Regions from separate parts of the Homo sapiens genome. Here regions 2, 3 and 4 are each linked to region 1. The links are contacts of gene promoters, found by promoter capture Hi-C in blood cells and fetal thymus (Javierre and others, 2016). All regions are on one chromosome and are shown on one strand. The core of a region is centred on a gene start or on the middle of the fragment in contact, and the rest is flanking DNA. Distances in the headings are between cores, read along the strand shown. Region 1 holds the start of POP5 (POP5 ribonuclease P/MRP subunit). Region 2 overlaps P2RX4 (purinergic receptor P2X 4). Region 3 overlaps P2RX4 (purinergic receptor P2X 4). Region 4 overlaps LOC105370030 (a long non-coding RNA gene).

Region 1 (3,480 bases), core at 611-3,110:
CAACAGCTGTCTCCTGTTGTACTGAATTAGGAACTTCTGACATGTTCTTATTGTACCTGGCATATGAGTTACTGTGGTCAACAGCTTGTGAAAGATCTCGACCTTACAGACTTTCAGAGGTAGGGGGAAGTGTCTTGTTAGCGGGACAGCAGCAAGACCCACCCACCAGTTTAGACTGAACTGTGAACGTGTCACCAATTGAAAATCAGTAGCCATACCACCTCACTCCTACCTCCCACATGTAATGTGTTGAAAAAGCATGGGTAACGGTGTCCTTTGTTCTCCAAGTATGTGATGAAGGGAAGAGCTGACCACACAAGCTGATAGAATTCTTTTCTGCATCGAAGTAGCACTATTCCAGTATAGGCATTGAGATATCGAACTACAACAGGAAAGAAAAATCATTTTGGAAAACTTTTGCTCTGTGTGGTGGCTCACGCCTGTAATCCCAGCACTTTGGGAGGCTGAGGCGGGCAGATCACTTTAAGTCAGGAGTTCGAGGCCAGCCTGGCCAACATGATGAAACCCCGTCTCTACTAAAAATACAAAAATTAGCTGGGTGTGGTGGTGCGCACCTGTAATTCCAGCCACTCAGGAGGCTGAGGCATGAGAATCGCCTGAACCCAGGAGGCAGAGGCAGCAATGACCCCCGATCTCGCTGCTGCACTCCAGCAGCCTGGGCAACAGCCAGACTGTCTCGAAAAAAGGAAAACTTTGGAGTAACAGAGCCTACTATGTGCCAAAAGTATGTTGTAGGCAAGTGGCACGTAGATCTATCAGCGAGTAAAAGAGAAAAGCCAAAACACCCACTGTGTTGCACACCACTCAGAACTGGTGAATGAATTTAGAATTGAAAATGCTTTCTAATTCACTAGTTAATTCAATAAATAGGAGCAGGTAGGAGGCGATCCGTTTTAATTTAGGAAAAACCCCCACAAAACCCTTGCCTGAAAAACAGGCTGTTTTACTGCATTTGGGCTCCGTAATTATTGTAGCAGTCAGCTCTCAGTCTCACCTGACTTAGGAGAGTTAAGTCTATCTGCATTTAACTCTCCAGAAGTCAATCTCAAACAAGGTTAAAGTGGGAACTAATTTAAGTGGTGTGAAAGAAGGGCCCCTCTGTCCTAGCTCATCCTGTATTTACATATATTGACAATCATGTGTTCTGTACTTTACCAACTATTTAAGGGCTTTCCCGGAGTACTTTTGACAATTTTTTTCCATATGATGTTAATGTAATCGGTCATATAATAGCTCTTACTAGGAAGTATACACAGCTTCCCTCATTTAATTCTCTACCCTATCAAATTCAATCACAACCAATTACAGAAATTACCTGTCAAGCAGGTAAAAAGAGGCTTCTAGCTCAAAGCCCCACTGCCTTCGGGCCCCTCCTTTTAGCGCTCTGCTAATTTCGGACTCTCGCTTGGGGTCCCAGGCGCTTAAAGAGATACCTTACAAAAAACGGTGCACGGGCTTGGCCACTCGTGCCCCTTCTTTCTTCCTCCGGCGCCTGCCCCCTCCACATCCCGCCATCCTCCCGGGTTCCCCTCTTCCCCCAGCGCCCTTGCACCCGCGAAGCCGATGGAGCAGGCGGCTGCGCCGAAAGTTCCGTGCACCCTGGCGATCGTGTCCCGTACGAGGCTGCTCAGAACTCGGTCATCGAGGCTTAGGCGGCAGCGGGGGTCGTCAGACACCAGTTCGCAGAGCAGGTACCTGCGGCAGGCGAGAGGAAGGTGGACACTAGCGGGGCCGCGAGGACCCAGCAAGGCACTGGGAGGGTCTGGAAGGGAATGCTTACCTGTGCTTGAACCGCACCATGGCTGCCTCCGCGCTCTCCGGTCCGGCGTGCAAACCGGATGTGAATTCTGTCCGCTGCCAATGGGAAGCTTGCTTCCGCAGCCTTTCAGCCATTCAGAGAAGGAGACAGGATATTAGGGCGGAGCTAGAAAGTTGAGAGGCCGAAGTCTGTCAGCTCTCTCAAGCCCCGCCCAACTGCGTTTGTAAGCGCGCATGCGTCCTGCGGAGGGTCACTGACTAGTTTGAGGGCTGAACCCCGGGATGGAGCGCCTTGCAGCTGTAATGGATGGTTCTGTTGCACACTGAAGTTTACAATAGTGTGTAGGATGTAGCCGCTACCCTTGGGGCCCTGGGAACCTTGCACCACAGTTATGTATGCGAGTATATTCTCTCCCCAAGGTGAACGGTGGAGCTTTTGAGGGCAAGACCCTGCACCTCACAGCCCAGGCATTGACAAACGGGAAATCGGACTTTTATTTTCAGGTTTGAGCTCAGTTTAATTCTTCCATACAGCTAAATATGCTATTGCTGTTTGGGCCTTTCAGCAATCTTAGGGAGGCGAGTGTGCCGTCTCGTTTTTTGCTCGCAGAAACAATACGTGGTCATTGTATTTTCCATTTCCGTTTACCTTTTTTTTTTGACAGAAAAGCACAAAGAAGCAAATAAATTATAATCCCAGCACTGAGAGAGAATAACTGTTGTCGTGTAGTGTGTTTTCTTCTGTCATTTTCTCCCTGCGCCAGTGGTTCTCAAAGTGCCGTCTGGGGACCACTGAGATTTCCTAAATTCACTCGATTTGGGAGTCCCCGAAGTCAAAATTACTTTCATAATAATGCTAAGATGTTACTTGTCTTTTTCATTCTCTCTGAGTGAACAGTCAAGTTTTCCAGAGGCTGCTTGACGTGATGACGTCACTGCTCTAGGAATTGTGTATTGTTTTTTAAACGTTTCTCAACTTTAATGTCCATAGTAAATATAACCCACAAAACTAAAAGCTCTTGGGCACCCTCAGTAACGTGTGTAAAGGGGTCCTGAGACAGAGAAAACAGCTTGAGAACTATGCCCTCTGTTAAATTATGTTTTTTCTTTTATTTTTAAGTATTTTAAAAAAAATGTCTTATGGGGTATTACATAAAGTACATATTCTTAAGTGTATTCATCTCAATGAATTTTTACATATGGATAGACTTCTATAACCACCTCCAAGATTAAAATAAAGAGCATTTCCAGTATCCCAGAAGGTTCCCTGAGCCCTCTTCCAGTCAAATTGCTTACTGCTATCAGCCACTATTACCACTTCTACCCTGCTAGATTAATTTTGCCTGTTCTTAAACTTTATATAAATGCAGCCAGGAGGCTGGCTGCAACCTCTGCCTCCTGAGTTCAAGCGATTCTCCTGCCTCAGCCTCCCGAGTAGCTGGGATTACAGGCACCTGCCACCACGACCAGCTAATTTTTGTATTTATTTATTTAGTTTTTTGAGACGGAGTCTCACTCTGTTGCCCAAGCTGGAGCACGATCTCAGCTCACTGCAACCTCTGCCTCCTGGATTCAGGCGATTCTCCTGCCTCAGCCTCCCAAGTAGCTGGGACTACAGGTGTGTGCCACCACAACTGGCTAATTTTTGTATTTTTAGTAGGGACAGGGTTTCCCCATGTTGGCCAGGCTGGTCTTGAACTC
Region 2 (3,480 bases), core at 332-2,831, 650 kb after region 1:
GAAGATTACGAGCAGGTAGGCCCCTCCTGGCCCCCAGCAGGCACAGGCCTCTCATCTCTTGGGTGTGGGAGCCCTGGGCGTGGGCCTGTCTGGGGAGGCCCTTCTGCAGAGGCTGGCACCAGTGTGGCGTGGTGTCCCCGTTAACCCGGGCAGTCCTGCCACTCTCAGCAGCTGCTCCATCCCTAGGCCCCTGTACTAGATTGACTCTTTAAACCCAGCCTCGTTTCAATGAGCGACATCTCAGGTTGGTGATGATAATGCATGCTCTGAGAATGCCTGTGGGCACACACTACTTCAGTGCACCTTGCGGAACAGGAAGGGTTGGGTTCCAGGCCTGGGACCAACTTGAGAACCCCTGGCGGTGAAGTCCCAGGAGCGCACCTCCCTCCCGCCTGCCACAAGGGGTCCCAGGGGCACCTTGATCTGCTTGTGTCCTTCTTTGCAGGGTCTTGCTAGTGAGCTGGACCAGTGAGGCCTACCCCACACCTGGGCTCTCCACAGCCCCATCAAAGAACAGAGAGGAGGAGGAGGGAGAAATGGCCACCACATCACCCCAGAGAAATTTCTGGAATCTGATTGAGTCTCCACTCCACAAGCACTCAGGGTTCCCCAGCAGCTCCTGTGTGTTGTGTGCAGGATCTGTTTGCCCACTCGGCCCAGGAGGTCAGCAGTCTGTTCTTGGCTGGGTCAACTCTGCTTTTCCCGCAACCTGGGGTTGTCGGGGGAGCGCTGGCCCGACGCAGTGGCACTGCTGTGGCTTTCAGGGCTGGAGCTGGCTTTGCTCAGAAGCCTCCTGTCTCCAGCTCTCTCCAGGACAGGCCCAGTCCTCTGAGGCACGGCGGCTCTGTTCAAGCACTTTATGCGGCAGGGGAGGCCGCCTGGCTGCAGTCACTAGACTTGTAGCAGGCCTGGGCTGCAGGCTTCCCCCCGACCATTCCCTGCAGCCATGCGGCAGAGCTGGCATTTCTCCTCAGAGAAGCGCTGTGCTAAGGTGATCGAGGACCAGACATTAAAGCGTGATTTTCTTAATCCCTGTCTGTTGTCTCATAGCATGTGCTAGAACTTTCCTTCCTACCCTTTTACGACAACCAGTAAATCCACTATTCCGGCTCACTGTGCTCAGAAAAGGTCCATGGGATGGTCTGTTTCTGGCACTTATGCACATTTTCCCCTACTTCTTTATTTATTTATTTTATTTTTGAGGCAGAGTCTCACTCTGTCGCCCAGGCTGGAGCGCAGTGGTGCAATCTCGGCTCATTGCAACCTCTGCCTCCCGGGTTCAAGCGATTCTCCTGCCTCAGCCTCCCGAGTAGCTGGGATTACAGGTGCATGCCACCATGCCCGGCTAATTTTTGTATTTTTAGTAGAGACAGGGTTTCACCACATTGGCCAGCCAGGCTGGTCTCGAACTCCTGACCTCAAATGATCCATCTGCCTTAGCCTCTCAAAGTGATTGGATTACAGGTGTGCGCCACCACACCTGGCCTATTTATTTTTTTTATTACCCAGGCTGGAGTGCAGTGGCGCAATCACTGCTCACTGCAGTCTCCACCTCCTGGGCTTAAGCGATCCTCCTACCTCAGCCTCCCATAGTGCTGGGATTACAAGCATGAGCCACTGCACCCAGCTGCCTACTTTTTAAAGCCTAATAATTTGTCATTAGCTTGTCTTCCTGCACAGTTCACAGGACACTTTTTCTCTAGTGACATCTTACCTGTGCCTCCATTTTGACATAAAATTACAATTCTATGCTGTGGGTAACACAATTTTTGGTAACATGGAAGTGGCTTCCTCTCCCTTCCCTGTTTGCTTCCCAAAAGTCTCCAACCAAAAGCAGCAGCACGCATACCTAGCTCCGCACAGGTTCGAAATGTTCATGAAGCTATTTCCAGCTGCAGCTTCACACCAACTAAATGTTTGTGTTTTTTTGTTTTTGAGACAGAGTCTTGCCCTATTGCCCAGGCTGGAGTGCAGTGGCATGATCTCGGCTCACTGCAACCTCTGCCTCCTGGGTTCAAGCAATTCTCCTGCCTCAGCCTCCCAAGTAGCTGGGATTACAGGCATCTGCCACCACACCCAGCTAATTTTTGTATTTTTAGTAGAGACAGAGGTTCACCATGTTGGCCAGGCTGGTCTGGAACTCCTGACCTCATGATCCACCGCCTCAGCCTCCCAAAGTGCTGGGATTACAGGCGTGAGCCACTGCACCCAGCCACACACCAGCTGAATTCTGCATCAGGTATTCAGAATCCCCCTAGAGGAAGCAGTTTGCCCTTCGCCTCTGCCATGAATTCACTTCCAAGTACTGAGAGGAACCATTATTTTACAAATACTCTGCTTCTGCTGGATAAATGGCCAACCTGGGCTTTTCTTGCTTTTGGAAAAAAAAAAAAAAGTTTACCAACTCCCTTTATTGAAGCTCTGGTTCATGCTGCCTTTTAAAAAAAAATGCTTGTTGCCTGTAATCCCAGGACTTTGGGAGGCCAAGGTGGATCACTTAAGCGTAGGCATTCAAGACCAGCCCAGTCAACATGGTGAGACCCTATCTCTACAAAAAATTAAATTAGCCGGGTGTGGCGGTATATATCTGTAGTCCCAGCTACTTGGGTGGCTGAGGCCGGAGGATCACTTGAGCCCAGGAGGTTGAGGCTGCAGTGAGCTATGATGGTGCCACTGTACTCCAGCCTGGGCACCAAAGTGAGACCCTGTCTGAAAAAATAAAAAGTGCTTGCTTAGGCACATGGGTCAAATGAAGCTGGAATGTTTAGGAATGGTGATATGGGCTGAATGTGTCTACCAAAATTCACATTTTGGAAACTTCATCCCCAAGGCAACCTTATTGGGAGGTGAAGCCTTGGGGAGGTGACTGAGTCAGGATTGCGCTGCCCTCATGAATGGGGTTGGTGCCCTATACGAGGGCTAGAGAGGGAGCTCATCCCCCGTCTGCCTTGCCACTGTCTGCCACGCGAGGACAAGTGTTCCTCCCTCCAAAGGATGCGGCACCAAGGCACCCTCTTGGAAGCAGAGAGCAGCCCTCACCAGATACCAAACCTGCCAGCACCTTGATCTTGAACTTCCTGGCCTCCAGAAATGTGAGAAATCAATTATTGTTCTTTATAAATTACCCAGTCTTAGGTCCCTGTAACAGCAGCACAAAACAGACTTAAGGGCAATGGGTGTGTTTATGATCTTGCTCGTCAAGGAGTGATGGTCACTGGCTGTCTTCCGAAGTGGGGGAGATGCTGTTTAGCCTCTTTTCTAAAACAAATGTGAAAGCAAGCCAGTGTTGGGGTGAGGGGCGGGTGTGTTTCTAGATGCCATGAACACCAGCAGGAGGCTGGGTGTGGTGATGCGCGCCTGTCATCCCAGCACTTTGGGAGGCTGAGGCAGGAGGATTACTTGGTCCAAGAGTTTGAGACCAGCCTGGGCAACAGGTAGTGAGACCTCATCCCTACAAATAATTTAAAAATTAGCCAGGCA
Region 3 (3,480 bases), core at 450-2,949, 630 kb after region 1:
GTGGGGCTTTTTGTGGTACCTGCCCTAGCCTAGTCAGTCATTCCCCATGCTGCCCCCTTAGGCTAGAGATGCCCTACCGCCCTCAGGCCTCGCTGAATGTGCCATTGTACTTGAAGGCACCTGTTACTTTTTTAATTTTTTTATTTTTTTGAGACGGAATTTCTCTCTTGTCGCCCGGGCTGGAGTGCAATGGCACGATCTCGGCTCACTGCAACCTCTGCCTCCCGGGTTCAAGCAATTCTCCTGTCTCAGTCTCCTGAGTGGCTGGGATTACAAGTGCCCGCCACCACGCCCGGCCAATTTTTGTATTTTTTAGTAGAGACGGGGTTTCAGGCTGGTCCTGAACTGACCTCAGGTGATCCGCCCACCTCAGCCTCCCAAAATGCTGGGATTACAGGCGTGAGCCCCCACGCGGGGCTGGCACCTGTTACAATTGAATACAACGCGAGAGAGAAGATGATAATTACCTTGCCACCTGGGGCCACTTTAAAGGCTTACCTGGGGTGTTCTGGTGTCTACAGCTGCTGGGCTGACACGTATTGCCTAGTGCAGTGGTCTCCAAACTGCACATTGGAACCATCTGGAAATCTTTGGCTCCCATCCCCAGACCCTTTTTTATTTTTTTGATGGAGTCTCCCTCTGTCGCCCAGGCTGGAGTGCAGTGGTGCAATCTTGGCTCGCTGCAACCTCCACCTCCCTGGTTCAAGCGATTCTCCTGCCTCAGCCTCCTGAGTAGCTGGGATTACAGGCACCCACCACCATGCCCGGCTAATTTTTGTATTTTTAGTAGGGACAGGGTTTCGCCATGTTGGCCAGGCTGGTCTCGAACTCCTGGCCTCAGGTGATCCACCCGCCGCAGCCTCCCAGAGTGCTGGGATTACAGGCGTGAGCCACCGCGCCCAGACGCATCCCCAGACCTTCTGATTTAATTGCTGCAGAGTATGATCGGCTGCCCAGGTGATTCTCATGTTCAGCAACGTTTCGGAACCAATGAACTGTGTTTCCCAAGTTTACCTGATCATGGAAGACTCATCTGAGGAATTGTTTAAAAGTAACAGATCCCCCCGTCTTTGGGGTGAGGTTTGGAATCTTAACACTGCCCAAGGGAAGCCCAAGCAGGTTTGGCTTCCAATATCTGTCAGCAGCAGCAGTAGATACAGACAGTATTCAAGAGGATGGCTTTCCAGGTGCAGACTCAACATCAGAACCACCTGGCCCACACCCAGATTTGGACTCATTGGCTCACACCTGTAGTCCCAGTGCTTTGGGAAGCCAAGGTGGGAGGATTGCTTGAGGCCAGGAGCTCAAGACCAGCCTGGACACAAGACCAGCCTGGACAACATAGCGAGACCCCATCTCTAAGAGAAAAATAAAGTTTAAAATGGTAAATTGTACTGATGGAGCAGTGCAAAAAAAAGAATTTTTTTTTTTTTTTTTTCTGAACACGGTGGCTCATGCCTATAATCTCAGCACTTTGGGAGGCCGAGGCGGGTGGATCACCTGAGGTCAGGAGTTCGAGACCAGCCTGGCCAACATGGTAAAACCCCGTCTCTACTAAAAGTACAAAAAATTAGCCAGGCCTAGTGGCTAATGCCTGTAATCCCGGCTACATGGGAGGCTGAGGCAGGAGAATCGTTTGAATCCAGGAGGCGGAGGTTGCAGTGAGCCCAGATTGCGCCACTGCACTCCAGCCTGGGCAACAAGAGCAAAACTCCATCTCAAATATATATATATATATATATATATATATATATATTTTTTTTTTTTTTTTGGAGACTCACTGCTAGCCAGTTAACTGAACTCACATCCCTGGTTGGACCTGAAGCATTTGGGGGCAGGAGCTCCCCTGCAGCTTTTTGCTTTTGGCGTTTGCTGCTAGTGGGAGGATCAGTGCACATCTACCTTAGGGTACCTGTAAAATTACAACTGCGGAAAATATCCATAGTGGTGTTGCACTGTATGGTAGCCACTAGTAACTTGCACCTGTTGAACACTTAACCGTTCCTACTCTACACTGAGATGTGCTATAACCTTAAAATACACACTGGATTTCAAAGACATAGTACAGAAAAAGAGGCTGGGCACAGTGGCTCATGCCTGAAATCACAGTACTTTGGGAGGCTGAGGTGGGAAGATCGCTTGAGCTCAAGAGTTTGAGACAAACCTGGGCAACATAGCGAGACCTTGCCTCTACAAAAAAATACAAAAATTAGCCTGGCATGGTGGCACACGCCTATAGGCCTACCTATTTGGGAGGTTGAGGCAGAAGGACTGCTTGAACCTGGGAGGTTGAGGCCACAGAGAGCTGTGATCACACCACCCTCCAGCCTGGGCAACAGAGCAAGACACTGTCTCAAAAAAACAAAGAGTACCACTATCACATGAAAACATTTTTTATTGATGACATGTTAAAATATTTTGGATATATTGGGTTACACAGAATATATCATTACAATTAATTTTTCCTGTCTCTTTTTTCTTTTTTTCTTTTTAAACGGCGCCTTGCTTTGTCACCCAGACTGGAGTGCAATGCACTGCAACCTCTGCCTCCCAGGCTCAAGTGATTCTACCATCTCAGCCTCTGGAATTATGGGACTACAGGTGCACACCACCATGACTGGCTAATTATTGTGTTTTTGTTTGTTTGTTTGTACAGATGAGAAATCTCATCTCTACAATCATGAGGTTTCCATGTTGCCCAGGCTGGTCTCGAACTCCTGAGCTCTAGCAATCTGTCTGCCTCGGCCTCCCAAAGTGCTGGGATTACAGGCATGAGCCACCGTGCCCAGCCCTTTCTATTTCTTTTTACTTTTTGACATGGCTACTAGAAACTTTTAAATTACAGGGTCTTGCCCTGTGGTAGCTCACGCCTGTAATCCCAATACTTTGGGAGGCTGAGGCAAGTGGATCCCTTGAGCTTAGGAATTTTGAGACCAGCCTGGGCAACGTAGTGAAACCCCATCTCTACCAAAAATACGAAAAATTAGCTTGGCATAGTGGCGCACACCTGTGGACCCAGCTACTTGGGAGGCTGAGGTGGGAGGATTGCTGTAGCCTGGGAGGCGGAGGTTGCAGTGAGCCAAGATTGTGCCACTGCACTTCAGCCTGGGCGACAGAGCGAGAGCCTGTCTCAAAAAAAAAAATATGTGGCTCGCGTTATGTTTTTATGGGACAGCGCAGCTCTGTAGGATTCCTTATGACGCATTCACTATCTCGGTCATGAGAATCTTTAAAGCAGTAAATGCTTTGCTTTTGTCCGTCTTGCTATAATCAAAACTGACTCAGGACCTGCATTAAGGCTCTTTTTTTTTTTAACCTCATCTCTTAACTTTTTGATGCAACTCATCTTAGTGAAATTGTGGTCTCCTCCTACAGCAACCCTCCCTCAAAAAAAGACCGAACACGCAATTCTCATCTATCTAACTCTGTTAACAATCATATGAGGAGGAAATAATCACATGATAATGAGTGGCATGAAAC
Region 4 (3,480 bases), core at 352-2,851, 530 kb after region 1:
GAGGCAGGAGAATGGCGTGAACCCGGAAGGCGGAGCTTGCAGTGAGCCGAGATCGCGCCACTGCACTCCAGCCTGGGCAACAGTGTGAGACTCCATCTTAAAAAAAAAAAAAAAAAAAAAGTCATCATCTTAGGGAGGTCTTTTCTGATCACCCTATTTAAAAGTTCAGGCTGGGCGTCATGGCTCACACCTGTAATCCTAGCACTTTGAGAGGCTGAGGCAGGAGAATCACTTGAACCTGGGAGGCGGAGGTTGCAGTGAGCCGAGATTGCGCCACTGCACTCCAGCCTGGGCGACAGAATGAGACTCTGTCTCAAAAAACATAAAAAAATAAAAATAAATAAAAATAAGTTAGCTCCATGCTTTTAACTCAGTAACAAAAAGACAAATGACCAACGTCAAAAGTGAGCAAAGGACTATCTAAGAAGATATATATACACGGCCAATGGGCACATGAAAAGATGCTCACCACGTAATGATATGTATTAGGGAAACACAGATCAAAACCACAGGACACACGACTTCCTATCACTAGGATGACTGTTATTTTAAAAATGGAAAATAACAAGTATTGGTGAGGAGATGAAGAAATTGGAAGCTTTGTATATTACTGATAGGAGTGTAAAATGGTGCTGCTGCTGTGGGAAACTGGCCATTCCTAAAAAAGTTAAACATAGAATTACCATATACCCAGCAGTTCCACTTTTAGGTTTTTACCCCAAAGAATTGAAAATGGGGACTCAAGCAGATACCATTTTTATTTTTATTTTTTATTTTTAGTAGAGATGGGGTTTCACCGTGTTGGCCAGGCTGGTCTCGAACTCCTGATCTCGAGTGATCCACCCGCCTCGGCCTCCCAAAGTGCTAGGACTGCTGGCGTGAGCCACCATGCCTGGCCTCAAACAGATACTTGTAACCTAAATGTTCACAACAGCACTATTCACAGTAGCCAAAGATGGAGACAACCCAGATGTCCCTAAACAGACGAATGGATTAACAAAATGTGGTCTATCCATGTGATTCAATTTTACTCAGCCATAAAAAAGAATGAAAGGCACATGCTACCACATGAATGAACCTTGAAAACAAGGTGAGATTCTTGTGAAAGGAGCTAGTCACAAAAGGCCACATAGTGTATGATGCCATTTATGTGAAATATCCAAAAACAGACAAACCCACACAGAGAAAGAAAAGCAACGGTTACCAGGGGCTGGAGGAGGAGGAATGGCCAAATGGGTACGGGGTTTCCTTTTGGGGTGATGAGAATGTTCTGGAACTAGACAGAAATAGTGGTTACATAACACTGTGAATGAACTAAATGCCACTCAATTGTTCACTTAAAAAAAAACAGAGATGGAGTCTTGTCGTGTTGCCTAGGTTGGTCTCTAACTCCTGGGATCAAGCAATCCTCCCGCCTCAGCCTCCCAAAGTGCTGGGATCACAGGCCTGAGCCACCGCGCTGGCCAATTGTTCACTTTTAAATGATTAATTTCATGTTATTTGAATTTCACCTCAATGGAAAAACTCAGCCCCAAACATGCCTTATCTTCCCTCCCTACCTGATTTTTCTCCTAATGCACAGGGCCCCTCACACATGGTATGTCCGGCCTATGTGTCCATTGTTCATCCTGCTTCTTTAAAATATAAATTCCAACAGGGTAAGGATTTCATCTGTTTTGTTAACTCACATATGCCCAAAGAGTCTCTGGTACTCAATAAATATTTGTTGAATAAATGAATTAGATAGGGTGTGGTGATGGAGAGAGTCCCGCCGCCATCCCTGCCCCCATCTCTAATTCTAACGTTCTAACCCGGCTCTTGACCTTGGAGCCGGTTAACGATGATCCTGTCTGGGCTCATTTTCCCTCCTTTTCCTGAAGAGCAGCATCCACAGGCCCTCACTCAGCTCACTCCCTTTTAACCCTTGTCTGCTGAGAGTTTGAGATAAAGGGGGCCACGAGAGAAGACAATGAATCCATTACAATGTGTGATGAGCTGTCTGCTCTGTGGCTTCCCACAGCAATTTATCATGACCTGGAACCACAGCTGTGAGGCCGGGTGTTCCCCCGCCAGGACCTCACTCCCCAGCTGCTTCAGAAGGGAACATTTACAGGAACCTGTCCATACCTATTTAATGAACAGCTGCTCGGATGCAGCCCTGTCCCAGGCACTCAGCCAAATGACAAATGAACTATATAATCATTCATTCATTCGATGATTCATCCATTCTGTGATTGATTGATTCATTCATTCATGTGGTTGTCAAACATTCATTGAGCACCTACTATGTGCCAGACACTGTACCTTGCACTGTGGCCCTTAATATCAGAGATGTCAATGTATGATAGACCAGGATTCCTCAGCCTAGGCACTGGGGACACTTTTGTTTTTTGTTGTTGTTGTTGCTGTTTTTGAGACAGGGTTTCACTCTGTGGCCCAGGCTGGAGTACAGTGGCACAATCACAGCTCACTGCAGCCTCAACCTCCTGGGCTGAAGCAATCCTCCCACCTCAGCCTCTTAAGTAGCTGCGATTACAGGCACACGCCACCATGCCTGGCTAATTTTTTTGTATTTTTTGTAGAGATAGGGTCTCCCTGTATTGCTTAAGCTTGTCTTGAACTCCTGAGCTCAAGCTATCCTCCTGTCTCAGCCTCCTAAAGTGCTGGGATTACAGGTGTGAGCCACCATGCCTGGCTACTGTGCACATTGGAACCAGGTATTTCTTTGTCACAGGGGTTGTCCTATAGATTAGCAGCACCCCTGGCTGCAGATGCCAGTAGCACTCCCTCAGTCGTGACAACTAAGATGTCTCCAGACATTGCCAAACGTCCCTGGGGCACACAGTCATCCCTAGTTGAGAACCACTGGTCTAGACAAGTATATTTTCCTCAAATTATCAGAGAAAAAAATGCTTTTATTTTTGCTGTTTCCTCCTTCTCTCCCTCTCTCTCTCCCCCTACTTACCTACCTACCTGGCTAGTTAAATTGGAAAGCAAAAGCATAATTACAGCTAACATTTGTAAATAGCACATAGTAAGGGGTCATTTTATCTTGGTTATTCTCGCAACAACTATATGGGCAAAATGCCACCAATGTTCACTTTACAGATGAAGAAATCAAGGCCCAGAGATGCTAAGCAAGTTGTCCAGGGTCACACCAAGATGAAGGGGCAGAGCTGGGGTTCAAATCCAGGTCCATATGACTCCAGAGCCCGGGTGCCACCAGATTAAGATTAAGATTAAGAGACCAGGTTAAGCAATATAGGAAGACCCTATCTCTACAAAAAAATACAAAAAAAATTAGCCAGGCATGGTGGCATGCACCCGTAGTCGCAGCTAACTGAGAGGCTGAGGCGGGAGGATTGCTTCAGCCCAGGAGGTTGAGGCTGCAGTGAGCTGTGATTGTGCCACTGCACTCCAGCTGGGCCATAGCGTGAAGCCCTGTCTCAAAAACAATAACAACAAAAACAAAAAACAAAA

The links. Contacts are between HindIII fragments. The CHiCAGO score rates a contact against its expected background, and 5 or more counts as called.
Region 2: a contact is called between a fragment that was not itself captured here and the fragment with the promoter of POP5 in region 1, in 2 of 17 cell types (naive B cells and total B cells). The highest score is 5.5, in naive B cells.
Region 3: a contact is called between a fragment that was not itself captured here and the fragment with the promoter of POP5 in region 1, in 2 of 17 cell types (total B cells and naive B cells). The highest score is 8.3, in total B cells.
Region 4: a contact is called between a fragment that was not itself captured here and the fragment with the promoter of POP5 in region 1, in 9 of 17 cell types (total B cells, naive B cells, fetal thymus and 6 more). The highest score is 11.7, in total B cells.

The regions. Positions count from the first base shown.
Region 1 is chr12:120,579,542-120,583,021 of GRCh38, forward strand. It overlaps POP5 (POP5 ribonuclease P/MRP subunit), which reads right to left and starts at 1,861. Exons shown (of 5, transcript NM_015918.4): 1 at 1,802-1,861; 2 at 1,574-1,716; 3 at 233-382; 4 at 1-56. The coding sequence starts at 1,821. The HindIII fragment of the contact is 2,825 bases long and covers 1-1,887 here.
Region 2 is chr12:121,233,078-121,236,557 of GRCh38, forward strand. P2RX4 (purinergic receptor P2X 4) reads left to right here. Exons shown (of 12, transcript NM_002560.3): 11 at 1-15; 12 at 446-1,029. The coding sequence ends at 472. Among named protein-coding and RNA genes, the nearest start is that of P2RX4, 25 kb to the left of the region's middle. RefSeq lists an enhancer at 665-1,292. The HindIII fragment of the contact is 6,150 bases long and covers 1-3,480 here.
Region 3 is chr12:121,211,070-121,214,549 of GRCh38, forward strand. The region is part of intron 1 of P2RX4 (purinergic receptor P2X 4); the gene reads left to right. Among named protein-coding and RNA genes, the nearest start is that of P2RX4, 2.7 kb to the left of the region's middle. The HindIII fragment of the contact is 3,683 bases long and covers 1-3,480 here.
Region 4 is chr12:121,112,187-121,115,666 of GRCh38, forward strand. The region is part of intron 1 of LOC105370030 (a long non-coding RNA gene); the gene reads left to right. Among named protein-coding and RNA genes, the nearest start is that of P2RX7, 19 kb to the right of the region's middle. The HindIII fragment of the contact is 2,011 bases long and covers 597-2,607 here.